4 separate regions of the Homo sapiens genome follow, and all the other regions are linked to region 3. Evidence: promoter capture Hi-C in 16 types of primary human blood cells and fetal thymus (Javierre and others, 2016). All regions are on one chromosome and are shown on one strand. The core of a region is centred on a gene start or on the middle of the fragment in contact, and the rest is flanking DNA. Distances in the headings are between cores, read along the strand shown.

Evidence for each region. Contacts are between HindIII fragments. The CHiCAGO score rates a contact against its expected background, and 5 or more counts as called.
Region 1: a fragment that was not itself captured here is called in contact with the fragment with the promoter of CHRNA1 in region 3 in 2 of 17 cell types (naive CD8 T cells and total CD8 T cells); the score reaches 5.1 in naive CD8 T cells.
Region 2: a fragment that was not itself captured here is called in contact with the fragment with the promoter of CHRNA1 in region 3 in 3 of 17 cell types (total CD8 T cells, naive CD8 T cells and naive CD4 T cells); the score reaches 6.3 in total CD8 T cells.
Region 4: a contact is called between a fragment that was not itself captured here and the fragment with the promoter of CHRNA1 in region 3, in 2 of 17 cell types (total CD8 T cells and naive CD4 T cells). The highest score is 6.5, in total CD8 T cells.

Annotation. Positions count from the first base shown.
Region 1 is chr2:174,828,159-174,834,912 of GRCh38, reverse strand. The region is part of intron 7 of CHN1 (chimerin 1); the gene reads left to right. Among named protein-coding and RNA genes, the nearest start is that of CHRNA1, 67 kb to the right of the region's middle. The HindIII fragment of the contact is 591 bases long and covers 2,525-3,115 here.
Region 2 is chr2:174,879,452-174,885,968 of GRCh38, reverse strand. The region is part of intron 5 of CHN1 (chimerin 1); the gene reads left to right. Among named protein-coding and RNA genes, the nearest start is that of CHRNA1, 120 kb to the right of the region's middle. The HindIII fragment of the contact is 3,859 bases long and covers 1-3,319 here.
Region 3 is chr2:174,759,389-174,765,724 of GRCh38, reverse strand. CHRNA1 (cholinergic receptor nicotinic alpha 1 subunit) reads left to right here and starts at 1,253. Exons shown (of 9, transcript NM_000079.4): 1 at 1,253-1,373; 2 at 6,092-6,237. The coding sequence starts at 1,331. RefSeq lists an enhancer at 753-1,252 and a silencer at 3,550-3,844. The HindIII fragment of the contact is 3,214 bases long and covers 1-2,263 here.
Region 4 is chr2:174,863,071-174,869,981 of GRCh38, reverse strand. All of the region lies in intron 6 of CHN1 (chimerin 1), which reads left to right. Among named protein-coding and RNA genes, the nearest start is that of CHRNA1, 100 kb to the right of the region's middle. The HindIII fragment of the contact is 1,770 bases long and covers 4,359-6,128 here.

The DNA.
Region 1 (6,754 bases), core at 1,571-4,070, 68 kb before region 3:
TTTTCACATTTCAGCTTCATAATGTGTTTATAGTTTTGTGGTTTTATAGAATCTTAAATGTGCATACTCACACTCAAGAATACAATGCACATTTGTTTAAAAGAATATAAATTATTTTTATACTACTATCTTCTCTGTTAATATCTTCGAGGATTATTTTAGTTAGGACAGATATGTCAACTTTGAGGAAACAAATTATTTTCCTTTTTCACTGGTACTCACACATCTTACAAAGTTTTTTTTAAAAGCAGTTGGGGGGATGCACATTACATAAAAATGAATAAAGAATGGCAGCAAAATTCTCATCAAAAACTATGCAAGACAATGGAGTGACATCTTCAAAGGACTGAAGGAAAAGAAATCTATTAACCTTGAATCCTATATTTAGCAAATATATCTTTCAGAGATGAAGAGAAAATATTTATTTTTTTAAACAAACAAAAGCTGAGTGAATTCATCCCTAGGAGACTGGTACTACAAGAATATTACAGTAACTTTTTAAGAAAGAAAATGATACCAGGTGGAAATTTAGAACTACACAAAGGAATAAAGAACACTAGAAGTAATAGTAAGCATGGGTAACTTTAAAAGATATTTTTCCTGACTTAGTATCTTTAAAAGATAGTTGACTCTTTAAGGCAAAAATGGTAATATATTATGTAGTTTATACAAGCAAAATGTATGACAACAGTAATGTAGAGTAGAGGATGGGGGAAGTGGAAGTATATTCATGTATAGGATTCTTGGGCATTACATAAAGTGGTATACTATTTGGAGGTAGACTGTAAGTTAAAGGTGTATATTGTAGACTGGGCATGGTGGCTCACGCCTGTAATTCCAGCACTCTGGAAGGCTGAGGCAGGAGGACAGTTTGAGCCCTGGGGTTTGAGACTAGCCTGAGGCACGTGGCAAGACTCCATCTCTATTTAGAAAAGAAAAGAGAAAGAGACAAAATTAGCTGGGTGTGGTGGCACATGCCTGTGGTTCCCACTGCGTAAGAGGCTGAGGTGAGAGGATCACTTGAGTCCAGGAGTGTGAGGCTGCAGTGAGCTATGATTGTGCCACTGCACTCCAACCTGGGTGACAGAGTGAGACCCTGTCAAAAAAAAAAAAAAAAGATGTGTATGTTCTAGACCTTAGAATAAAACTAAAATTGACATAGTTAAACTAACAGTGGAGATAAATGGAGTCATAAGAAATATGCAGTTAATTCAGAGTATAAAACATAAAAAAAGGAATAAAGGACAAATGGAATGCATAGAAAACAGGTTGATAGTTACATTAAATGAAAATGACTCAAACACACCATTAAAAGGCAGAGATTGTCAGGTTGGACAAAAAAGCAAGATCCAGTGATATGCTGTGTACAGGAAACCCACATTAAATATAAAGGGCACAGAGAGAAGTGAAAGAAAAAGCAAAATTCTCATCAGAAATTATGCAAGACAGTGGAGCGACATCTTCAAAGAACTGAAGGAAAAGAAACATTAACCTAGAATTCTATATCTAGCAAATAATATGTATATGTAGACAATAATTCAAAGAAAATTGGAGTGACTGTACTTTTTTAAACACAATTTTTGAACAAGGAATATTATTGGGAATGAAGAATGTAAAATTAATCAAGAAGATATAACAGTTTAAAATTTATATGTACCTAATAACAGGTGCAAAATACATAAAGCAGCAACTGAGGTGAGGGTGAAATAGACAGAATATACAGAAAATTAGTAAGAGTATAGAAGACTTGAAGAACAGTATCAACCAATTTGACCTAACTGATATTTATAGAGTACTCCACTCAACAACAGCAGGATACACATACTTTTCAAGTGAACTGGAAGATTCACCAAGATACATAATATTCTGGACCATAAGACAAATATAACCATGTGTCATATAACTGTTTCAGTCAACAACTGACCACAGTTATGACAGTGGTCCCATAAGAGTATAATACCTTATTTTTACCCTGTCTTTTCTATGTTTAGATACATTTAGATACACAAATACCATGGTGTTAATGTTACATATTCAGTACAGTAACATGCTGTACAGGTTTGTAGCCTAGGATCTATAGGCTAGACCATTAGGTCTAGTACATAATAGGTTTTACCATGTAGATTTTGTGTAAGTACACTCTATAATGTTCACCTAATGAAGCATTTCTCAGAGAGTGTCCCTATCATTAAGTGACACATGACTGTATCAATAAATGTAGAAGGGTTAAAGTCATACAAAGCATATCCTCCAACCACAACAGAATTAAATTTGAAATCACTAACAGATATCTGAAAAATTTCCCACATACTTATAAATTAAATAACATACTGCTAAATAACTCATGGGTTGAAGAAGAAATCACAAGATACATTAGAAAATATTTTGAACTGATTGAAAAGAAAAATAAAACATATCAAAATTCATAGAATGTGGCTAAAGTAGTACTTATCAGGAAATTTATATCATTAAATGCTTATATTTAGAAAGGGAGAAAAAAGGTCTTAAGTCAAAGAGCTAAGCTTCCATCTTAAGAAACTAGAAAAAGAAGAATCAATTAAACCAAGTACTTAAGGAAAGGCAGTATTAAAGGTAAGAGCAGCAATCAGTGAAAAAGAAGAAAAACAGAATTTTTTAAATCCCAGAATTTACTGGGATTTTAAAAAGGGTTTTAACTACATACTTTTAATAACTTCCTGTGCATTTTAGTCAGATCTTTTTCTTAGTATAGGAATACTTGCATTCATATTGTAATATATGTTAACAGTACTTCTTCAGATGACACTTTTATAACCAAGTCAAAAAGAAATTGAAACCTGGTTGTGTGGAAATAATATATTAATGCAGACTTAGCTTCAAAGAATTGTGGATCACAAGACATTGTAGACTGGTCTGAGGGTTTTCCGTATGTCAGTGTTCAGTTACCTATCTATAATGTAGGTATAGAGATTTTCTGTCACTCAGCTATGGAATGTAAGTGGTTTTTATTGCACAACCATTTACTTATTTATTTTCCTATTGTACCTACATAATATAACCTTAGGGGACTGGTATTTCAAAGTGTTGATTTTTACTAATATTTGAATACGAACTCATTCATCTCAGTAATGAAGCTTACTTTCTAAGTAGAAGTGTTTTAGGTGATGGCATTTAACATTTTTGAACCTTGAGCATGATTCAGTTTGGAGGCAAAACTATCAGGGGAAAAGAAATCAAAAAGAAATTGTCTTCTGAAACTTAAAAGAAGCCTAAACATTAAAATTATATATTTTATAATACTCTAAATACTCATATTTTGAAATGGAAAATGTCTTTGAATTAATGGTTATATTTATTGTTTCATCATTATTATACAATCTGTACCTTGTAGCATATAATAATCAAAGGATTGCTTTGAGAACTTTGATATTTCCACATCCAGATTCTTGGGTTTCAGATTGATGGTTCTGTGTAAGGGGCCACTATTTCAGCTCAGCACAGAACATCAACACCAGAAATTGTGTTTGTGTTCTAGCATTAATATGGTTGTTTATGATTCTAAGCAAGTTCTGTGCAACCTTTGCATTCATTTTGTAATTTTAGATATACTTCTCCCTCAAAAACATAGCGGTGATTGGGAATGTATGGATCATAAAGGAAACCATAAAAGAATTTAAGCTCTGTTAATAAGGCCAATATTGAATTGTGGTAAATGTATTTTTATGAGAATAATTTATTTTTTCTGCACATATTTAAAATATTGTTTTGTATACCAATTAACATAAACCATTTTTATAATATTCATATGGGAGCAGAACTAAATTACTGTATTGCCCTGGTGACTGTCCTAATAGTCATATTGTTATAGTATGATCATATTTTACCAGCTTTTCCCTGTAGTTATTGCTCACAGTTAAAGTTACATCATTTATTTGTGGTATGGTCAATGTATGTCTAGTAGGCTTTTATGGTATTTCTCTCAATTTTGAACAGTTTTCTTACTCTTAAAATTAGGTCACCAATTTTCTGTCATTTGTCATTCTCTTTGAAGCGGTGCTTCCGTGTTAACTACTTGTGTGGTTAAGTATGTGGCGCAGAAAGACCCTGCAAATTCTCCCGTGTGGCCACCTCTATAGCAGCTGGTTATACAGGCCATTAGCACCTGCGCCCCTTCCCCAGCCGCCTAGTGCCTCCCTCACTCCTGTCTGCTGCTGGCCAGTGGGCATGCCTTTCTATTCCAGGTACTTAGCCTTGGCCAGTGCTTAAAGCTATGTTTCAGCAAGTGCCTGGTGCATTTCTTCTGCCTTTCCTGCCATGGTCATCAATTACACATCCATTTGATCAGGACAAGAAGACTAGGAATGGCCAGCATAGTGTCAGTGCTTAACTGACATTATCGTGGTGCTTAACTGAACCAAAACCTCGCTCTTTGTTAATACATTATTACTCCAGAGTTATAGGGTGGTTAGTAGTTTTGACTAGACGTAACTTAACAACAAGGCAAGAAGGTATTGCCTTGATACTAAAGATACTCCTATAGTAAGTATTCCTCCTAATTTAAGTACTCTTGTATGTATTTCTTGCTAATGATCATAGCCAGTGTTATGTATTCTCTTTTCACGGCATAATAATATAAATCAAAGTACTTTAAACTGAAGTGGTAAAATTAGGGTATGATTTTTTTATTTTTTATTTTTTTTTGAGACAGAGTCTTGCTCTGTAGCCCAGGCTGGAGTGCAGTGGCACGATCTCGGCTCACTGCAAGCTCCGCCTCCTGGGTTCATGCCATTCTCCTGCCTCAGCCTCCCGAGTAGCTGGGACTACAGGTGCCCGCCACCACACCTGGCTATTCTTTTGTATTTTTAGTAGAGATGGGGTTTCACCGTTGTTAGCCAAGATAGTCTCGATCTCTTGACCTCGTGAGCCACCGCGCCCGGCCAAATTAGGGTTTGATTTCTAAATTCCATATCATATGGACCAAAAAGTTTAAGACCATCTTGGTGAGACAAACATTGGTCACCTAAAAGAGTGCATTCTAGTTACCCTAAACATAAAAATGAGGGAAGAAAAAACTTTCCTGACCAGCTGCCTGCCTACCTACATTCCTTTCGTTTTGATTTTGTTCATCTGTTCTCTCCCCTCATCACCCAACACTGTGCTGGAGAACTGACTCATCACAGTCCCAAATGAGAAGCTGCAGCTGAAATGTCATTGCCACCTTCCCAAGCAAAATTTTATTTCCCGTAATGTTCATATCATCTCCAACGTGGCTTACATTTGCAGCAAGCTTTGCAGGCATGCTCCTTGGCTATTTGCATTCATGCTTATTTCTAAAGGGAATGTTTTGACTTGAAAGGAACAATGAAGATTAATGGTGAATTTTTCTTTATCTTCCTATATCATGGATTTCTTTTTCAGTTTCTGTTACTGGCTTTCAAACTGGAGATATGAATGCTGTAAACATGATGAGAAGCAGGGTGTTTGTTTCCTTTTATAAGCCAGGATTTTAGTCTGAATAATGGCAGGCCCAACTGAGAATGACTTCAGTTTTTATCTAAGTCATTGCCCAGGAGACACATGACACTTGGCCTGTGCCATATGGGCCCCTCAATAGCCCACCCTTTCCCACCCTGTCCTTTGCAGCCTGCTTCTGACCAATGCCTTCACTGATAAGACTGTACTGGGGATCCGTTAATTAATCCAGTCTTTCATCTCTGTTTTAACAGAGAAGTTAATGTGAAAGGAGTTGTTCACAGGTTAAAAGCAATCACAAATGTCATGGTAATAAAATGGTCTTTTTTTTCCAGTTGCACAAGAGGGCTTTGAAACTAGTTCGTTTTGCCCTTTATTCATTAAAGTGTAATTCATGCCTTATACTCTGTCACTTTCATTTGTCGAGATGGACCAAAAGCTTTGGAGGTGGCCTAGAAAAAATATCTGTGGCCCACTTACAAGGTTGCTTTTCTTGGGACCATTTTTGACTTCGCTAATAATGTAATAGGGTGAAGCTGATTGTTCTTTTGAATTATGTCTTATCAGGAACCATACCCAGAGGAATGGGTTGCAGATTTCTAGGGGGTGTGGCAATTCTAGGCAAAAGTCACTCTCTGTTGTGATCTAGAGCTTCAGGCCCAAGCCCTTGCACCCCTTGTGAACCCTTCCAGGCCTCCTTTCCCGCATATCCCACCTAGTTCTTCCTTAGCATCCTGCAACACACAAATAGTCTTCAAGATGCAACTTATGGCTTTTTAATTATATTTTGAATGTTCATTGTATTCAGATTTCATCATTTTTAAAACAGGTAATTAAAATACAACAACGTCTAGTAAACAAAATTGTCTGCAGATGTCAGTGCCTGTAGAATTATCTATAGGAAACAGCACCTATTAGTATTGTGCTAGATGGAGCAGCACAACTGAAAAGCTATTCTAAGTTGTACAATTTGTGCAATTGATTTTTTAAAGATACCTTTTTCTGAGTTGGCAAAGTATGTGACGTAAACATCACCGATAATGTAAAACTGCATATAAAGTGAAACATTTAGATAAAGCATAACGACGCACGTAAAAAGAAAATATTCATCACTTTTTGTTTAATGTGCTTGACACTGGCTGGTATAGTACGATTTTATAATGTGTCACCCAAAAAGGAAACTTGCTTTCAAGTCCAGTGGCCCTTCTCTGAATTCCTGGCCAGTTTTAGCTCCAGTTCCTATTCCCCACTTTGCCAAAACTCCTCATTTGCTCCATAACTGAACTTCCTTCCTGATGCTCAG
Region 2 (6,517 bases), core at 141-2,640, 120 kb before region 3:
CAAACATGTTGATTATTTCTAGGCCTACTCTAGTTTTTAAATGATTGGAATGCATGTAAAATACTTTTCTGTAAGTACAAATATAAATTTATGTAGTAGTGGGACACAGTATTTAGTATTGGTCCTGTGGTTTAGTAGTAAAATGAAACATAGTAGGTAGCACAAGTTACTATAATTGGCTCACTAAATTAGAAAAGTTGTTTGTAGGCCAGGCTCACGAATGTAATCCCAGCACTTTTGGAGGCTGAGGCAGGCAGGTCACACGAAGCCAGGAGTTCAAGACCAGCCTGGCCAACATGGCAAAACCCCAACTCTACTAAATATTAGCTGGGCTTGGTGGTGCACGTCTGTAATCCCAGCTACTCGGGATTACTTGAATCAGGGAGGTGGAGGTTGCAGTGAGCCAAGATTATGCCACTGCACTCCAGCCTGAGGTCAGGGAGACTCTGTCTCAGAAAAAAAAGAAAAATTGTATATCACTTATTTACTCCCAAATGTCAATAGAAAAAGCAGCTTCATATTATATAGGTCATCACACTAAGACCATTATGGCTCTGTAAATGGCAAACACTCTATCATGGTAATTATCACTTTTTAAATTATGTCCAGCAAAACTACGGTAACCTGATTATATTTTGGCAGTTATATGTAATTTCTCTCTCTCTATATATATATATTTTTTTTTCTTTTTTTTGAGACCGAGTCTCGCTCTGTCGCCCAAGCTGGAGTGCAGTGGCGTGATCTTGACTCACTGCAACCTCTGCCTCCCGGGTTCAAGCGATTCTCCTGTCTCGTCCTCCTGAGTAGCTGGGACTACGGGCGCCTGGCTGATTTTTTTTTTTTTTAGTAGAGATGGGGTTTCACCATGTTAGCCAGGATGGTCTTGATCTCCTGACCTCGTGATCCGCCCACCTTGGCCTCCCAAAGTGCTGGGATTACAGGCATGAGCCACCGCGCCCGGCTAATTTCTGTGTATTTTCAAAAATTCTTTTTATTGTTACATATAGCTAGCTAACTTAGGGGAAACTATTTATGAAGTCTTTACTAATTCTATTCCACTTACTTAGGAGGCATGATATATGCCAAGTACTATGCCAGTCTCTGGTGCTTTAAAGTAAGTAAAACTAATAACCGATTCTTAAGGACTCATAGGCAATAGTGAACCATTAACAATTTTCAAGAGGGAAAAATCATGTGATAGGATCCCTCAAATGCATAATATTAATTATCACAGTATGTGTCCCGTAATTTTTTCTGTTTTACTGGATACTTAATGTGGGTTTGGCCATTTATGGATGTTGCTGCCAGATGTATATATATGCTGGTACATATAATCACACACATTGTCTAGGATATTACCTAGGAGTAGGATTTATATGTTGTAGGGTATGTATATATTCAACTTTAGTAAATAATACAAAACCCCTTTGTTAAACAATATTGCAGGTACTGGTTATATTAACTGCTCTGTATCCTTGCTGGTACTTAGTATTGTTAGGCTTGTTAAATTTTGCCAGTCTGAGGATTTATTTGCAATTACTGGACTATTTTGTGAGCACCAGTTCTTGGTGTAGGTCTGTTTTCATCCATTGTGTAAATGTGTGTTCTTCCATTATAATAAAATTTTTTGAGTTATCGCTTTGATTCCTTTCCCTTCCATTTTGTCTCTTCTCTCTTTCTATAAATGTTAGACTTTCAGGCCGGGCTCGGTGGCTCACGCCTGTAATCCCAGCACTTTGGGAGACCGAGGTGGGTGGATCACGAGGTCAGGAGATCGAGACCATCCTGGTTAACATGGTGAAACCCCGTCTCTACTAAAAAAATACAAAAAAATTAGGCAGGCATGGTGGCGGGTGCCTGTAGCTCCCAGCTACTCGGGAGGCTGAGGCAGGAGAATGGCGTGAACCTGGGAGGCGGAGCTTGCAGTGAGCTGAGATTGCACCACTGCACCCCAGCCTGGGCGACAGAGCGAGACTACGTCTAAAAAAAAAAAAAAAAAAAAAGAAGTTAGACTTTCTGGATTGATTCTCTATCTTAATTATTTTCTCTCCTTTTTTTTATCTTTTTGTCTTTTTGTTCTTTAAAATTTTCTCAACTTTTTTAAAAAAACTTTCATTTATGCTATATTCCTTTTTCTACTTATTTTTCTATATATTCTATATTCCTTTTTTTTACAGGATTCTAATGTTTTTTGGTTAAATTCTATTCAAGAATAGGAACAGGAAACATCTTATTTTGGGTTTTTTGAGCATATTTTCATTCCCATGCATGATTTTGTTTCCTCTAACTTGCTTTGATTCTGTTTGTTTATCATAGTCTTTGTCTTTCATGAGGGGAGTTTTCCTCAGATGTCAGGTGGCCCTTGGCTGACTGCTCATATTGAAGCATATGGGACCCTAAAAGGCTGGCTAGTAGTTCTGAGAGCTTGGAGGAAGCCTGACAATTATAGGATGATGGTCTCTACTCTTAAGTCTTTTTTTGTTGAGTTGATCAGATTTCCAAGAGTAGAATCTTTCAGTCTCCTATCAGGAAAGGTACAAGCCTTCCGATAGCCTCATGGTGAAGAGAAATGGAGGTATCAGTTTCTTTAGTATTTAAATTTTGGGTATTTAAAACTTTCACTTAGTTTTCAAGATGATACCTCTGCTTGTATTCCCTCAGTTCACTATCTCCCTGTTTTATCCTGCCTAGAAAACAGAACTTAAGTCTTCTGCCATGGTGGTGAAGGGATAACAATAGGGACAGGATTAGGGAGGGCAGGAGGAATATCTAACTGCTTTTTAAACGGACTTCGAGTTAATCCTTCTATATCAGTTCTACCTTCCAGAGCTATGTGAGTTCCACTGTTCAGAAGATGGCTTCTTTGGAAGTTTAGTTAGGCAAATTGGATTTCTTCTTCACTGAAAATGATTTATTTGGCCAAGGAAATATCATTATGTGTTGACATAATTTAATACTTTTCTCCATAATCCAAAATTGTATAGCAAGATAGACAAAAGTCATAGCCTGACAAAGTTTTGGATGGGATATCATTTTAATGTTGTATATAACTATGCTCTCTCTTCCATAGCCTTCCTTAGTTCATAGAATTCATCTAAATTTATTTTGTAGTACTTAATCGAATGCATCATCATATTTTATTTCTGTTTTAAATTTTCTTCCAAGAGTATCTTATGATTGAATGAATGTATATTTATATTTCACCATTAGATTAGCTTTTTTGACTCTGGTAAACAACAGACAAATATATATTTATGATAAATAAAACTGTTTTTGTATGTTGGTTGCTGGAAATACTTCTAACATTTTATTGTAAGCTTAGACGAGTGTGTTGTATATGTTTTGTTTTCTGTTTGTTAACACAAAACATCTGTTAGCTTGGAGCTTTCCTTTGAAGAGATCCTTTCAAATCACTTTGGCCTCAAATTAGAATTAATTCTTGGTTTTGCATAAAGTAAAGTAAAATTCCGAAAGCTATTCTGTATATATTTTGTCATCATTTTTTCTTCTAGACTGAATTTTTTGTCGATATGATTTATTTGCTGAAAAATAGAAAAGATGGTATATTAAGGATTTTGTTTATTTTTAAAAAGATGTTAGAATTGTATATCTTGAAATGCATCTGAATGCATCTGGGCACAGCATTAAACAGCTTTTTAAAATAGGAAACCCGAAACCTGGAATCACTGGAGAAAGATATTCTTTCTAGAAAGTGGCATTATGTACAACAGTAGCAGTTAAAAGCCTTTCTTTTCTATTTGTTTACTATAGTAACACTCTGGAGAAAATGAATTTTCATCTTGCTGAACTCTACCTAGGTGAGAGTTGGGCCTATGCAGCTTCAAGTATGTTCACCAAGGAATAAACAGCTATTAAGCAAGGGCAGAGTCAGATAATAAAAGGAAAAGATGAAAAGAAAATTATCTTATAAAAGTCAAAGGGAAATGATTTAGCCTCAACAGTTTTTACAAATCAATGCTCTGTAGTCTAGGGTTCAGTAGCTGTCACTAGGTCCACTTAATATGTCCCGCTTTCAATATATGTAAATCTCTCAGCTTTCTCCTTTGAATTCAGAGGCCTCATTCCCAGGACACAGTGGAAAGACCTTCTTTGCTTGCTCCTCCTACCCGATTTGCACTCTGTTGTCTTCCCACTCTATTTAACCAAGTGGCAAATACAAACTTATTCAGAGACATCCAGGAGAAAATTTCACAAAGAGCTCCTCCTTGCCTTTTGTTAACTGTAAAGTAAATCAGTGCAGAGATGTTCCTGTACAGCCAGTGTTGCCAGTTATTTATTTAGCCATCTTCCATGCATATCTATTGAATATTTTTGCTGTTTTACTTTAGTGTTGGTAACTCATTCTGTCATTCTCTGCAGGGGCCTAAGCTAACAGAGAAGGAGAAAGGGAACTACCACTCGAGCCTACTATATATATTTAGCTTTGACTTAAATATCTTCATGTAATCCTCACAGCCATCTGGGGTAGGGTGATGTTATTCCTATTTTTTAGATGCAGAATCTGACGAATGATTTCCCCAAAGTCACCCAGCTAGGAAGTGGCAGATCCAGGATTTAAACTTACAACTGTCTGATGCCAAAGCCTAAGGTTTTCTCTTAAACATATAGGACCCACATTTGCCTTCCCTTGGCCAAACCATATTTCAAGACTACAGGAGAAGACTGCAAGGATGCTTTTGTACTTGGACATAAGCAGTAGCTCTGAGATCTTATGTAAGCCTAATTGTTGTGCTCTGTTTTACTAGGCAGTGAGTTTCTTGGTTTTATGGTATGAGGGAGATACTGGATTCACTTGGTTTTGTGAATCACTTTACAGAATCTTTCTACATAAGAGCAAGATTCTATATGTATATAGTTATTAAAATAGATCAATCTGAAGACGGACTTTTTTTTTTTTTTTTGAGATGGAGTTTCACTCTTGTTGCCCAGGCTGGAGTGCAATGGTGCAATCTTGGCTCACCACAACCTCCACCTCCCAGATTCAAGCAATTCTCCTGCCTCAGCCTCCGGAGTAGCTAGGATTACAGGCATGCGCTACCACGCCCAGCTAATTTTGTATTTTTAGTAGAGACAGGTTTCTCCATGTTGGTTAGGCTGGTCTCAAACTCCCGACCTCAGGTGATCCGCCCGCCTCAGCCTCCCAAAGTGCTGTTATTACAGGCGTGAGCCACCGCACCCGGCAAGATAGACTTTTTTAAATTTAGCACTTTGTGTATTTGTATTGACCTGTTTTATCTTTTTACCACTGGGGTTACCAAGCGATAGGAACTCTATTGTGAACCACCTAATACTTGACAGTAAAGTACCTGGATGTTTTGTTAACTATTTGTTGAATAAATGACAGTCTGCAAGCAGTGAACTTCAAGGAAAGAGTCTTTCTTTGACCTTAGATTTGGAATCTCCCCCTTTATGGCTCTTCTTATGTAGAATGGGCACATCCATTCCCACCTTTCTCAAAGATTTTCTGTCTTCTTTCTCTTCTTCTAATCCCACAAAGCACAATATGCCTTTCAGATAAAGAAAGTGGAGAAATCTTTGACAGTCTGTGCTGTGGTGCTGTTCCTAGGTAACTTCCCAAGTAAAAGAGAGTAGTTCAGAGTAGGCCAGGAAAGCTTGGCAGTTCTCTTAGTAAAATATAATGCAGTTTTTCTTTAAAAAGATCAATCATAATTCCAAAATGGAAATTTTTTATTTTTACCCTTTGAAGCAAAGTTTTAATCAAACCATGTTATAAGTTTTTTGGTTATGTGATCATCTCCCTTTAGACTGAAAGTTTTATTGGATTGGAAGCCTGGAGCTGAAGTACAGGCGGAGCAGGAATTGGAAATTGTGGGCAGGGTCTCCTGAAATCACTGAGTTGAGAAAGAGAAAAGGATAAATAGGGTTTTTTGCACAGCTCCTTACAGGTAGCCAGGCCTCTTCTTGGATGAATTAGGCATCGTCCATTGGAAAGAACTAGGAAGTTAACTCTAGACTTCCTAGTTCCTAGTCAATCAAACCATTCCCAGTGCAGCCATCTTCCCTTCATGCCCTGTGCCCCCCATACTTCTCAGATTTCAAAAGGCAATTGAGTACTAAATGACTGACACCATTGCTTGGATTGTTTTTAAGTTCTGTATCCACTGTAGAAATGCCCACTGTAAAATCGTAAGTCCCAGCAGGAGTAAAATGGTCTGAGCCCTCATTGAAATGTGTCTGATACAACCGAAATATAAAGGGACTCAATGCTATGTGTGTTTATTATTGTAGGAGTCTTATAAAAGCTATGGAGTTGCTTTCCATGTTGCAGATAATGTATATTAGAAAAAAAGGAAATGATGAAAGCAGTATATTAAACTGAAAAACTTTTATATTTAACTTTGGTGTAGAAATTTCACCTGTCTAATTTTTTAGGCTTTATAATGAAAATATACTTGGGAGAAATGTGTCTTTAACATTAGAGGAAAATGGAGAACAAGAAAGTGTAATTATATGGATAGTTCACTTAAGTGTAAAT
Region 3 (6,336 bases), core at 4-2,503:
CAGTCCCATGGCTCCATTTAGATGGAAGGGGCTGGTCAGAGGGTGGGGGTTGTATTTCTGCCACGGGGCTATTCCATGGAAGGGAGAGAACCAAATTTTTTTTTAGCAAACAGTTAACTGATCTCCCACAGTTTAAACAAAAAATATAAATAGTATGAGCTTGCAGCTCTCTCCTCTACCCTCCAAGCCCCTTCTCTAATGATTTGTTTGGATCCACTGGAATGAGAGGATCTGTCAGGATGTTGTTGTGGGCTTGAGGTGAGAGGACCTTTCTCACCTAGTTCCATGTGGGAAGGAGGCCTGGAAGGAACAGGCAGGGTACCTTTAAGTAACTGTCTCCTTCTGGGAACTCACCTCACACCCTGCAAAGAAGCACAGCTAGGGTAACAATACTTCTCAGACTGAGAAATTACTAACTGCTGGTTTTTAGGATGTTTTTCAAGCAAGATAATTGAAAAGCTGAACCACTCTGCTCTTTGCTTCCCTGAGTGAGAGTAGGCAGAGGGACGGATGGAAGGAGGCAGGAACCCGGAACGACTGCTGATGCGGTGGGACACTTTTTCCCAATAATTACTCTTCGCTTGAATCACAGTGCATAGGACGTGGGCAATTTGCTCCAGCTAATGGTTCGTGTGGGATAGGTATTGCCTGATACAGAGGCAGGGGTTGGAACAGCCACTCTGGGGGCCAGTAAAGCCAGTTTTATGGAAGAAGCTGTCTTTGTTAAAAACCAAACCCAATCAACGTGGGGGCTTCCCAGCAGCAGACTCAACACCAGCTACACTTTTCTGAAATCCAGGCAGTCAGAAAAGCCCCCGGCACCCTCAGCCTAACACTGAAGCAGAGGAAATGAAACTGAAGCCATGTTTGCAGAATGTGGATTTTTGTGGTTTAGGACAAACAGCTGACTATCTACTCAGACCAAATGACCCTAATCAAGTCAACCCACAGAGATGAGGTTCTGGTTTACACAAAAGAGAGGCAGTTTGCTCACCATTTAAAATAATTCCTTCCTTCCTATACATTTTTTTTTCATTAAGATCTGACTACTGGTGCATTTAAAATATAATGCAGTTCATACTCAGCTTGTCAAGGGTAAGCAATTGTGTAAAGTGAGGCATATCTGTAATGGTGTACAGTCCCAGTAACTCCCTGGGCTCCAGGGCTGAGGGCAGCCCAGCTGTCGCTCCCACAAACAGGTGGTGTAAAACAATAGCTCTAGTGAGCCGACTCGCTTTCCAAACCCTCCAGCAGACAAGCACCCAGCCAGAGTGCCAGTGAGAAGCACAGGCCACCACTCTGCCCTGGTCCACACAAGCTCCGGTAGCCCATGGAGCCCTGGCCTCTCCTCCTGCTCTTTAGCCTTTGCTCAGGTAAGTGCTGGGGTCAGGGGTGGGGAGAGGGCTCTCCTTTGAGGCTAAAGTGCTGGAGGCCCCCAAATCAAAGTCTTGCTTCTTTGATGAGACCACAGAATGGCAGAGCCTCCCCAACCAGGGGCTGCTCTGTCAGTTTCTTCCTGATGTTAGCTTGATTGAGTTTTTGGATAAAGATTTTTAGTTTGCCTTATCTAATTAAAATAGAAACTGCCTGGTCAAAGACTTCAAGATAGACACGCATGTCTCTCCCTCCATCATGCCTGGCAGCCGACTCATCCCTCTGAACACTCGGCACCATTTGTAGGACCTGGACCACTTGTGGATCATGGTAGTGTCCGGGGGTTCATATTTAAACAACTATGGATACTTAGAACAGTGCCTTATAATCACATACAATGGAGTTAACAAGTCCCTTTACTGCTCCAGGAGAATTCTAATAATAAAGAGGACTGATTGACAGCTACATGTGCTGGAGATAGAAACCAGTTAATAATCATAACTAAACTCTCTCCACAGAGACAAATATTTTTTAATTTTTTCAAAATTTCTGAAGTTAAAAAAAATTCCATATGAATACATTCCTACCTACTTTTTTTTTTTAAGATGTTACTATATATAGGTTTGGGTTTGAATTGAAACTATAAAACCTTGCACAGCATTTGACCTGCATTCTACTCTGGAATGTGTCCTAACACAGCAGCTGAAACACCATCCTGAATCCCAGACTTCCGCTAGAGGGAAACAGGAGATGTTTGCTGATTGCTTCACATAAAAGTTTACTGGTGATATCATCCCAACTGAGAAACAAGGTGGCTGACATCCTGTGATTTTTCATTTCCAATATTGCTCTGAAAAACACAGGCCTTCTGGTCAAGAGGCAAAAAGCTTTATTATTAATTTTTTTCAATATCAGAGTTGAGTGAAAGAGCCTAAACTCAGATAAATTATATCATGTGGGATTTGGACTCTGTCCAGCCAAAGCTGGCCTGATGTGTGTGTGTGTGTGTGTGTGTGTGTGCGCGCGCGTGCACACACATGCGTGCACGCAAAACCACAGTCACAGGAAAATTCTTAAATGATATGCTTTAATGTAAACATCCTTAAGAGATCTCTTAGGATTTTGGTTATTGCTAACCAAAAATGCATGATTAGCTATTAAAGAAGTATGTGATATGTATTTAGGTCAAATCTCGAGTTTGCTGGCATTGATTTCCATGGGTGTTTTATAGAAATTTAGAGCTAGATCAGGCAGTCCAACATCCTCAATTTTTTATTACAAGGAAACTAAAGCTGACCTGCCCAAGGTCACTTAATTTATACATTTTGGAATGTGGTCAGTTGGAGACTTGGTTTATTACATGCACAGTCAGAAAACACAGCCTGAACTAGCCAAAGGTAGCAAGAGATACAGAATCAGGTTAAGATAATAATGATCCATGGGACTAGTAACAGTTCAAAATTTCTTTTGCCCAGCCCAGGGAGCTATTTCCTACATACAAATACAAATGGAACCAGTGTGGTACAAAAGGAACACTTTGAAACTGTGGTTGAGTTTCCCTTCTTAGAATCAGTCCTTTGTAGACAAAATTGTCATTTATATCAGGGACTCTTTTCCTGTGTTAGCTTAACACAGCGTGATCTCTGTTCTATTTATACAGCACTTTTCATTTCAACTTTTTCTTTTCTTTGCCTCTGGAATCTCAAGCACTTCATTGCCGTCTTTCTTACGGCATATCACTTTCCAACTTGTTCACAGTTATTTACGTAAATGACAAATGTCAATCTCCATGAGGGTAGGAAGAAGGATTCAGTTTTGAATATCTCGAAGCTCCCAAAACAATGCTTTGCTTACAGTAAATGCTCAACAAATATTTCATGAATAAATTAATGTTACCATCATCTGAATAAAGATTACAAATATAATCTTGCTAAAAAGGGGAATTTGACATTATTTAATTTTTTATTTGCATATTTGTTTATTTACACCCTACCTTTTTACAAAAGTATTTACTGTGATTCGTTGAATCCATGAAGAACTAATCCAACTCTCCAGGCCATATGGGAGTTGGGAAGAGAATCATAGAGTTCTGACTTTGAGCCCTGTGAGTTTTCTATCACTCTACCCTGTGCTGGGGAGGAAAAAAGAAAAGAATACCAGTGAACCAATCTAAGAAATGAAGCCCTCCTTCCTTAGAAATTCCTTATGGAAGGAACAGGCACCTTGTTATTGGCTAGGGTGGGAAAGGAGGAGGTGACTGTCTCTGAAATGCTGATTATGTCTGCTTCTGTCATCCTCCCCTTCCTCTTAGTGGGCCATAGGGTTGGTCTGCATAGTTCTCCTGCTACATAATGCTGACCATCTGCTCTGCCCTCTGCTTTCTAATATGTTCTTCCTGTCAAACTGGAGTGAACAGTCATTTAAAAATAAGCAGCCCAAGGCAAGGCCAAAGCAACAGCTTCAAATTCAATGGCCAAGGTGCTCAGTAATCCATTCCAGTCTGCAACTCCACCATGGGATGGATGAGGCCCAGGATAGAAAATGCATAGAGGACAGAAGGATTATCAAGTCCCAGGGGCTCAATGGGGTGGTTGCAAAAACGGAATATTCAAACAACATATTCCCTTCAAGAGTCCTCAAATGCAGGTGGCTTTAGGGAAATGTCATGTGAAATCTCTGCGTGGTTGGGCACTGAGTGCCCTTGGAACATTTTGGGTTCAGAAAACGTGTGAAACTAGCCGGGTGAGGTGGCTCTTGCCTGTAATCCCAGCACTTTGGGAGGATGAGGTGGGTGGATGGCTTGAGCTCAGGAGTTTGAGACCAGCCTGAACAATGTGGCAAAACCCCATCTGTACAAAAAATACAAAAATTAGCTGGGTGTGGTGGTGCGCACCCAGGTAATTTTTGTATTTTTTATAGAGATGTGGTCCCAGCTGCTTGGTTGGGGGAGGCTAAGGTGGGAGGATTGCTTGAGCCTGGGAGGTCAAGGCTGCAGTGAGCTGTAATTGAGCTACTGCACTGCAGCCTCAGCAATAACCTGCGGAAAGGGGAGATCTGGTTACGTGAATGAAGGCAAATGTATCATGTGTCTACTTCCTCTCCCAGCTCTGAACACACAGTCCCCAACCCACGGAAGGCTTGAATTACAAAGATCCTTCATAAGACACTTGGGATTTGGAACACATTTTCTCATAGGAATAGTGGCACTTGCAGTTCTGAGTTTCCAGGACAGCTCACAACACACTGTTAGTACCAAGAATTAGCCCAGAAGCTCAGCACAAAATGACAGGATTCCAATCTGAGCTTTGCCCTTACTGGTCACATGACCTTGGACAAGTGGTCCAACCTCCCTGAATCTCAGGTAAGAATGTCTGCCCTCCTGCTTCATCTGTGGCTGATGAAGATTGAAAAGGGGTGTAGATAGAAAAGGGGGCCGTGGGTTCTGAGAGTATTAGATGATATTGCTCTCTATACTGAAGGAAAATGTAGTAAAGATTCCTTGGAATCGCTTATGTTCCAACTAGGAGCCCCAAACCCAGGTCAACAAAGCACAGTTTTCACTCTATTTTAACAACTTAACTGGGACATGGACCTGCCAGCAGTGATATTTTAAAAAATCGTGGTAAAATACCCATTTCATAAAATTTACCATTTTAACCACTTTAAAGTATACAATTCAGTGGCATTAAGTACATTCACATGTTATAAGACCATCACCACTATCTATTTCCAGAACGTTTTCATCATCCCAAAGGGAAACATCAAGCACATTAAGGAGTCCCACCCGATCCCTCTCTCCCCCCCAGTCCCTGGTAACTCCTGCTCTGCTTTCTGTCTGTATAGATTTACCTATTCTGGATGCTTCATGTAGATGAAATCATACAATATTTGCCCCATTGTGTCTGGCTTCTTTCACTTAGTAAAATGTTTCCAAGCTCCATCCATGTTGTACCATGTGTCAGTACATCATTCCTTTATTCCTTTTTCATGTCTGAATAATAGTTCATCGTAGGGGTATACCATAATTTGTCCATCCATTTACCTGTTGATGGACACTTGAGTTGTTTCCACCCTTTGGCTATGGTAAATAATGCTGCTCTTCTTTTGGGTGTGGACCTAGGAGTGGAATTGCTGGATCGTATGGTACCTGTGTTTAACTTGTTGAGGAACTGCCATTTTACATTCCCACCAGCAACATATGAGGTTCCAGTTTCTCTGCAACCTCCCCAACCCTTGTTATTTTCCACTTGTTAGTTATGGCCACTCTAGTGGGTTTGAACCAGCATCAATTTTGGCTGTTCATGGCATCTTGAGATCTGATGCAGCCAGTCCAAGATTTCATTACACTGCTCTGAAACACTGAGATTGGCTTTTTTGTGGGCTTTTTTTTCGTGTGTGTGTGTGTGTGTGTGTGTGTGTGTACCTGGCAAACTTGATTCAGCCAGGCTGTATGAAGGAATGTCACCTGTCCAAAGTACAAGCGTTGTGATTACCTGGCACACCCCACTGTCACCGGGTAAGGGACCACACCAGCAACTGTAATTGGAAAAACACAAGGCAATAACTGCTGCATTTGGGAGCCTTTCAACAAGGAGGCCTGTGTGCCTTCTGTTAGAAGGAACTGAGGCTTATGCCTCAGTTCCTCAGTTCCTCATGTTCATGTGTTTGGAGGGTGGGGAGAAGAATCTGACAGTGTTGGTGTCATCTGCTGTCTCAGCTGGCCTCGTCCTGGGCTCCGAACATGAGACCCGTCTGGTGGCAAAGCTATTTAAAGACTACAGCAGCGTGGTGCGGCCAGTGGAAGACCACCGCCAGGTCGTGGAGGTCACCGTGGGCCTGCAGCTGATACAGCTCATCAATGTGGTGAGACAAGAGCACTGGGGGCCTGCCCACACACCCACACCTCTCACCCCTGGGTTTCCTCCCCTGGGTCCCCTCTCTCCCCCATAAAAATGATCCTTA
Region 4 (6,911 bases), core at 3,994-6,493, 100 kb before region 3:
AGTGAAAGGTCATCTTTACTGTAAAATTTCCCTCCAAAAACAGGGGCTTTTATGCAAGCTGCAGATTGTTTAGCACCTTCTTAAGAGATTTTACACCCCTGTTCCTTTCACCCACTAAACAGGAAGGGATCTCTGTTCTGGGTATAGTTTGCTTATTAACTTTAGAATGGCTTTGGGCTGCTGCCTAAGTTCATAGTGAGAAAAAAGCTGTAGTCCTCATCCCTTGAGAAAGTTCTGTTTTTATTTATAATGTGGAAACTCTACAAATGAGCCCATGTCTCCATGTTTCCAAGAATTTTTAAAAAGATAACTTTTTAAGGTATAATTTACATACAGTAAAATGTGCACAGTTCCATGTACAGTTTGATGAGTTTTGACAACTGTATGCACCTGTATAACCAACCCTACAATCAATATATAGAAACTCCAGAAAATTCTCTCATGCCCTCTTGTAGAAAATCTTACCCCCACCCAGACCCCAGGATTTCTATTAGGACAAGAAAAATTTTAAATTGTTGACCTAACAGGTGACATCTTATTTTTAGTTTCTTATATTTGAAGTACTCCTTTCTTTGTTTTTCCTCTTTTTATTTATTATAAGCATATCATCTAATTATCTTTAATATCTACCTTCCTTAACTCCAATTTTGGAATGTAAACTTTCTCAGGTCATTTTTCTTAGGGAAATATGAGCAGCAAAGGAATTAGAGGTGTATAGTAGTGATTACAAGGCAGTGTAACTTGTTGAAGTTCAGTCGTATCATTAGGGAGTCTTCACCTTTTAATCAGTAATAAATGCTTCAGTAAATTTGAGTACACAACAAGGGAGGATTCCTGGGTGCAGGGAGAAGAGCCTCTGCTCTGTTGGGATCTTGGACCTGAGCCAGATTCACTCAGCCAGCCCTCCTTTAATCATTGACTATACCTTTGCTCTTCCTCTCTGGCCTGAACAGGTCCCCCAGCAGGTGATACTCATGATCACAGTTGATGGGAAAGTAGAGCATCCCCTGCTCTCTGAGTGTGAACTCTACCTCATGGTACCAGGTACCACAGTGAGAAAAACTATCATTTCTGCATTTCCCTCTCACAGTCTAACTCAAATGGGAAAATTATGGCAGTTGTATGATTTCAGAGTTTCCTATGGAACACCACTACAACATTTAGATTTCTCTCCTTATGCTCCTTGAAACTATGTAGGTGCAGCCCACTCAACTGTCCTGTAGAATGGAGTTCTCCTTTACCCATTCCCAGGTGAAGAATGACATTCTCTTGTGTAGCAGCCTCCCATGGGTGGATTGCGGGTTGTGTAAAATTCCTGGAGAAATGATTATAACTTTTCTCCTGTTGCCTTTAGGAAAACCTATTGGAATGTAATTGTTTGAGGAATGTTACTATAGGCAGAACCTTGACTTCATTCTAATTTCTTTTAAAAAGATTAAATTATTTGCATATTAGTTTAGTAACTGATTTCAATGCACGTTGACTGGAGTGGGCCCTCCAGTGATCTGGACTTGCTCTCTAAGGAAGCAGCCATTAGGGGCTCAGCAGTCTCTTCTTGTGACCTATCTTTAGAACTCTGCATGGTTTATTGGCCATATTCTAGAGGTGTAGTGTTTCTTAAGGCTGGGAGCACCGGGAATCTATTGCAGAGAGGAGGGTACCAGAGTACCAAAGTAGTAGAAAATTGTAGAAATATTTCATTTGCACTGACTAACTCATCATGTTATGCCAACATGTGTAGGTGATATTTGTGAGCAAGTCCAATTATATTATCTAAAACTGTTCTTAACTTTCAAAACAAATCATGTTGATATATCTAATTAATAAATTTAAGATATTTTTCCAAGTATTAAAGAAATACAAGCTCTTCATAAAAAATTAGAAAGATATGAAAAACAAAGAAAGAAGGAAGGGGCTTACTTATAGCTCCACCATTCAAAGCCAACTTTATGTTAACATTTTGATGAGTTTCCTTTTAGTCTGTCTTCCTACGCATAGATTAATGTACACTTTTATATTTTTATTTTAAGTAACCCATGTTCATTGCTTACACAAATAATAAAACTATGAGAAACAATAAGAATATAAAAATTAACCCAGGTCACACTATTGACAGATAATATAACTAATAATATTCTGCTGTTTGTCCTTCCAGAGTTGGGGGCAAGGAATGTTTCTTCTATATAAACTACTTTGTAATTTGCTTTATCGACCATTAGGCTATGAACAATCTTTCCATGTGAATGTATATATATATCTGCTTTATGTTTTAAATGTCTATATTATATTACTTTATAAGCAGGGAATTTAGCTAGTCCTTTAATTTTTTTATTCATTCATTCTTTCAATATTCATTATGTAATGAACAAGACCATCATGGCTCTGTTCATAAAGTTAATTTTTGTCATTCACACCCAGAATACAAAAAAAGAAACTTAAATATTATTTGCATCATTTTTAAAGATGAGGAAATTGGAGTAGAAAGAGAGAAACTCTTCTTGCCAGGACATTTTGTTATTTAGTGATTGGTAACCAGTACTCTTTTTCCCTATACTGTCTATGTTTAACAATAAATCTTCCTGAAGTAATCTTTTTTTTTTTTTGAGACAGAGTCTCGCTCTGTCACCTGTGCGGGAGTGCAGTTTGACACAATCTCGGCTCACTGCAACCTCCATCTCCCGAGTTCAGGTGATTCTCATGCCTCAAGCCTCCCGAATAGCTGGGACTATAGGCGTGCACCACCACGCTCAGCTAATTTTTTTGTATTTTTAGTAAAGATAGAGTTTCACCACGTTGCCCAGGCTGGTCTCCAACTCCTGAGTTCAACTGATCCGCCTGCCTTGGCCTCCCAAAGTGCTAGGATTACAGGCATGAGCCACTGCTCCTGGCCCTTAAGTAATCTTTAAAAAAAAAAAAAAAAATTAAGTAAAAAAAAGTTGTCATTTTAACAGTCTTTGTAAGTTTAGAATTTTGTTTAGTCTTGCAAAATGGCTTTTTCATTTGTTTCCAGAATATTTAATGCGCTAAAAAGCAGCATTTATTTATAAATAAGGATAACTAATAAAAATTTAAATTTATAAATTAATTTCTTTCGGAGATAATTAAAAACGTGCAAATTGTTTTTCTTGGAATAGTCTGTATCTTTAAAATTATAAAACTATATGAGAGAAACATTTTTCTGAATTTGCTGAATATAGAAAGTTTGTACTTTAGCTTCATATGTAATCATAGTCAAGCTTGTCTACACTTTAGAGTTGCCCAGTTCTAAATTCACAAAGTATTTTGAGAGGAAAGGATTTCCATAATTTCCATCTGCAGTGTGCATAGAAGGGCTTAGCTGAAATTGTTATTTAAACCAGAACTATTTTGCTATCTTGTGGCTATAGCATTCTAATTACCAAGTATTTCAATGTGAATAGTGAATTCCCTTTGTCACCTTACAGAAAAAACCCCCACAAAATGCCTTTCCCTAACTAATGAATATGAAAATGCTTTTTTTTGGAAGCAGTGTTACTGCAAGGGGATGGGTTTTTTCTGTGTTTTATTTTTAAAAATCATACAGACATTGATTATAAATGTTTTTAATATTACATCACTTTTGATTTTATACAAAAATATTTTAAACTTTTAAGCTCATTTATTTTTCTTTAGAAAAAGGTACTTAAACAGTAATGGATCTTTAATGTTTTATCTGGTGTTAAGATTCCTAAAAGAATTTCTATAGTCCTATATGCTAAGTGTTTGGTCATAGCTTGGAGTGATCCACAGTATCTGGTTCTTTTTCTGCTATTCTTTTCCTCCCTTAATTTCTTAACTTTTTGAGATTTGTTTTACATAAAGATCCACATTTACTCTTTAAATAGAAACACTTCAAAAGCAGCTTTATCACATGTTATGTCCTGTTTATCCAGCAATTCCCTCACACACAGAAAAATAACCAACTTTTTAATGGGGCATCTACTTTGAAGAAGAGATCTGGATCCTAGTCTGTCACTTTAGCTAATGATTTTTGCTTTGAGCATGTCTTAATAACCTCTCTGGGCCTCAATAGTAAAATGAAGGACTCAGCTTCATAGATGACCACAAGGTCCCTTCTAGCTGCCATAATTTTCTACCCATATGTTCTTTTTGTTAACCTTTAAGAGGTTTTTCCGATTAAAGATTCTGTACTTCTGACAACTTATTCCAAGAGGTAGAATAGGCTGAACACATACAGGTTTAAGTATAGACGTGAATACTTAAATCTGCTACTGACTAGGATTATAAATCTTTGAGCCAATCAAACCATTCCCTTTGGCCTTAGAACATTGAAAGTCTGTTCTAGCTCCCTACTATACATTTCTAAGGATTGTAAAGCTTAGAATTATAACAGAAATAACTAACATTTATTGAGCATGGTGTTTCAGAAGCTGTGCGAAGTACTTCACCAGGTTATCTCCTTTAATCTTTAATGCAGTCTTTTAGGGATAGGTATTAACATGGAGATCTTTGGGGGTGATAGGTTTATGGTGAATTATCAAGATATTCTAGGGGGCTGTCTTAATAGTGCATCCTCTATTTTTGGGAGTGACATCATAGAGGACAGCCAGACCCTTCCACACAATGCCCCTTAGTATCATTGTAGAGACTTAATGTTGGACTGAATAAAGACTAAGTAGATCACTATCTTTTAAGTAGTTAGTTTACCAAAAGGGAGTAGTACCTCTAGAGCTGCCCAAAGGAAGTTGAAGCATGGTTCAGATGGGCCATTAAAGAATGTCACTCTAGAATTGCAACTCTTATGTTCCGTTTTTTAAATAAACTCTTACCAAATGCTGAAGGAACGAAGATTCCAATTCATTGAATAAGAAAACCTATGATATCGAATTTTTAATGTAGAAAAATAAAATATCCTTTCTTAAAGTGTAGCTTAGTTCTCTCTTAGTTGCTTATGTCAAATGCTGTCCTCTCTTCATGAAGTATCACACAGATGTACAAATTCAAATAATCTTGTTCCTTTCATAGGAACAACAACAATAAATAAATAAAGGATTTAGACTTAGTGGTTGTGTAAATTACACATAAGATTGCACTAATTCAACAAGTGCATTTTATTTTATTTTTATTTATTTATTTAGAGACAGGGTCTCCATCTGTCAACCCAGGCTGGACTACAGTAGTGCGACCTTGGCTCACTGTAGCCTCAATAACTCCTGGACTAAAGCAATCCTCCTACCTGAGCCTCTGAAGTACTGGTACTACAGGCATGCACCACCATGCCTAGCTAATTTTTTTGTAGCGATGGGGTTTTGCCATAGTGCCCAGGCTGGTCTCGAACTTCTGGGCTCAAGCAGTCTGCCCGCCTCAGCCTCCCAAAGTGCTGGGATTACAAGCATGAGCCACTGTGCCCAGCCAGAACATGTGAATTTTAAATAGCAGTATACTTAGTAGAATGAGATACAGGTAAATTTTTAAATAATTGAGCCATATTAAATGATTAACCTAATTTATTTGCATATTAATGAAATCTGATAACTAAGATTTATAATATAAGGCATATTGCATTTATTATATTTTAGATAAATCAGCATACATTTACGTCTTCAACAGTTGACTTAAACTCAGTTTGACAGTTTTAGGTTTTCATCATTTCAGTCTTCAAAGTGCTTATTAGCATTTCATTGTCAAAGTTGAAGCATCCCTAGCTCTTTGAAACTGACAAAAGACCTCTGAGTTGACAGTCACCTCCCAAATAAACAAGATTTTTAAGATAGTTGAAGTGCTTTCCAAATCAATACTCTAGAGTCTATATGTAACACTTACTGTAGAGAGTTTATTATTATTTAGAAGTTAAAAAAAAGAAAAAGAAAACAGAAGCAAACAAACAGAAACCCTCTCAGGTCTTTAACACAGTTTGTCAGTTTATCATTTTCTATGTTATCTCTCAGAAGAAGAGAAATCAGTAACACTGAAAGATTAGCATTTCATAACTATAAGAAAAAAATTAAAGATGGTCTTACTAATGCTAGTACTTATGAGAAATAAAATAAGTAGAATAAAACTTTAAATTTGGGGGAAGTTCTGAAACATGCAGTGATAAATAATTTTTTATTAAAGTGCTGACGATCAGTGTTCTCACCAATGAAGCTTTCTATAAAATTGAGATATCTGCAGAAATTTTGATTCAGTATAATCAACATGGAGCCTAAACATCTGTATTAATGTATTTATCTTTCTATCTACACATCTATATCACATGTGTGATTCTGTTGCTCAGTAAAAGTTACAACTGATAGATTAGATATGCGGTTCTGAAGCTTTTTGGAGTCAGGACCCCTTTACACTTTAAAAATTACTGCAGACTTTGAAGAGCTTTTGTTTATGTGGGTTATATCTGTTGATATTTACTATATTGGAAATTAAAATATATTTTATAAAATATCTTTAAGAAACAATAAAAATTACATGTTAACAATATTATTAAATAACCAATTTTTGAAACAAAAAAATTTAGAAGAGTAGCAGTGTTTTACATTTCTGTGAATCTCTTAAATGTATGGCTTAATTTTAAGGAAATGAAACTGGGTTCTCATAAATGCTTCTGTGTTCAGTCTGTGGTGATACCAAACTGGACAAGTAGTAATTTCTTAAAGGTTACTTGCAATGTGGAGTCTGAAACCTTATTAATAGCCATTTTTTACTCTGTTACACTGAAACCCATTGGTCTATTGAACTTCAAATGGATCTTTCAACTGTGCATGATTTTGAAACATCATGCATTGATCACTTGTAAAATATTGGTTCACTGAGTTACGTAGGTCTTCCAAATGTTGACATATTTTATACAATATCAAAAAGTCACATTTGTTAGTATCATCATTGATCTTACCAGATAACTCATTGAAGTAGTAGGAAGCTGTCAAGTTTAGGGT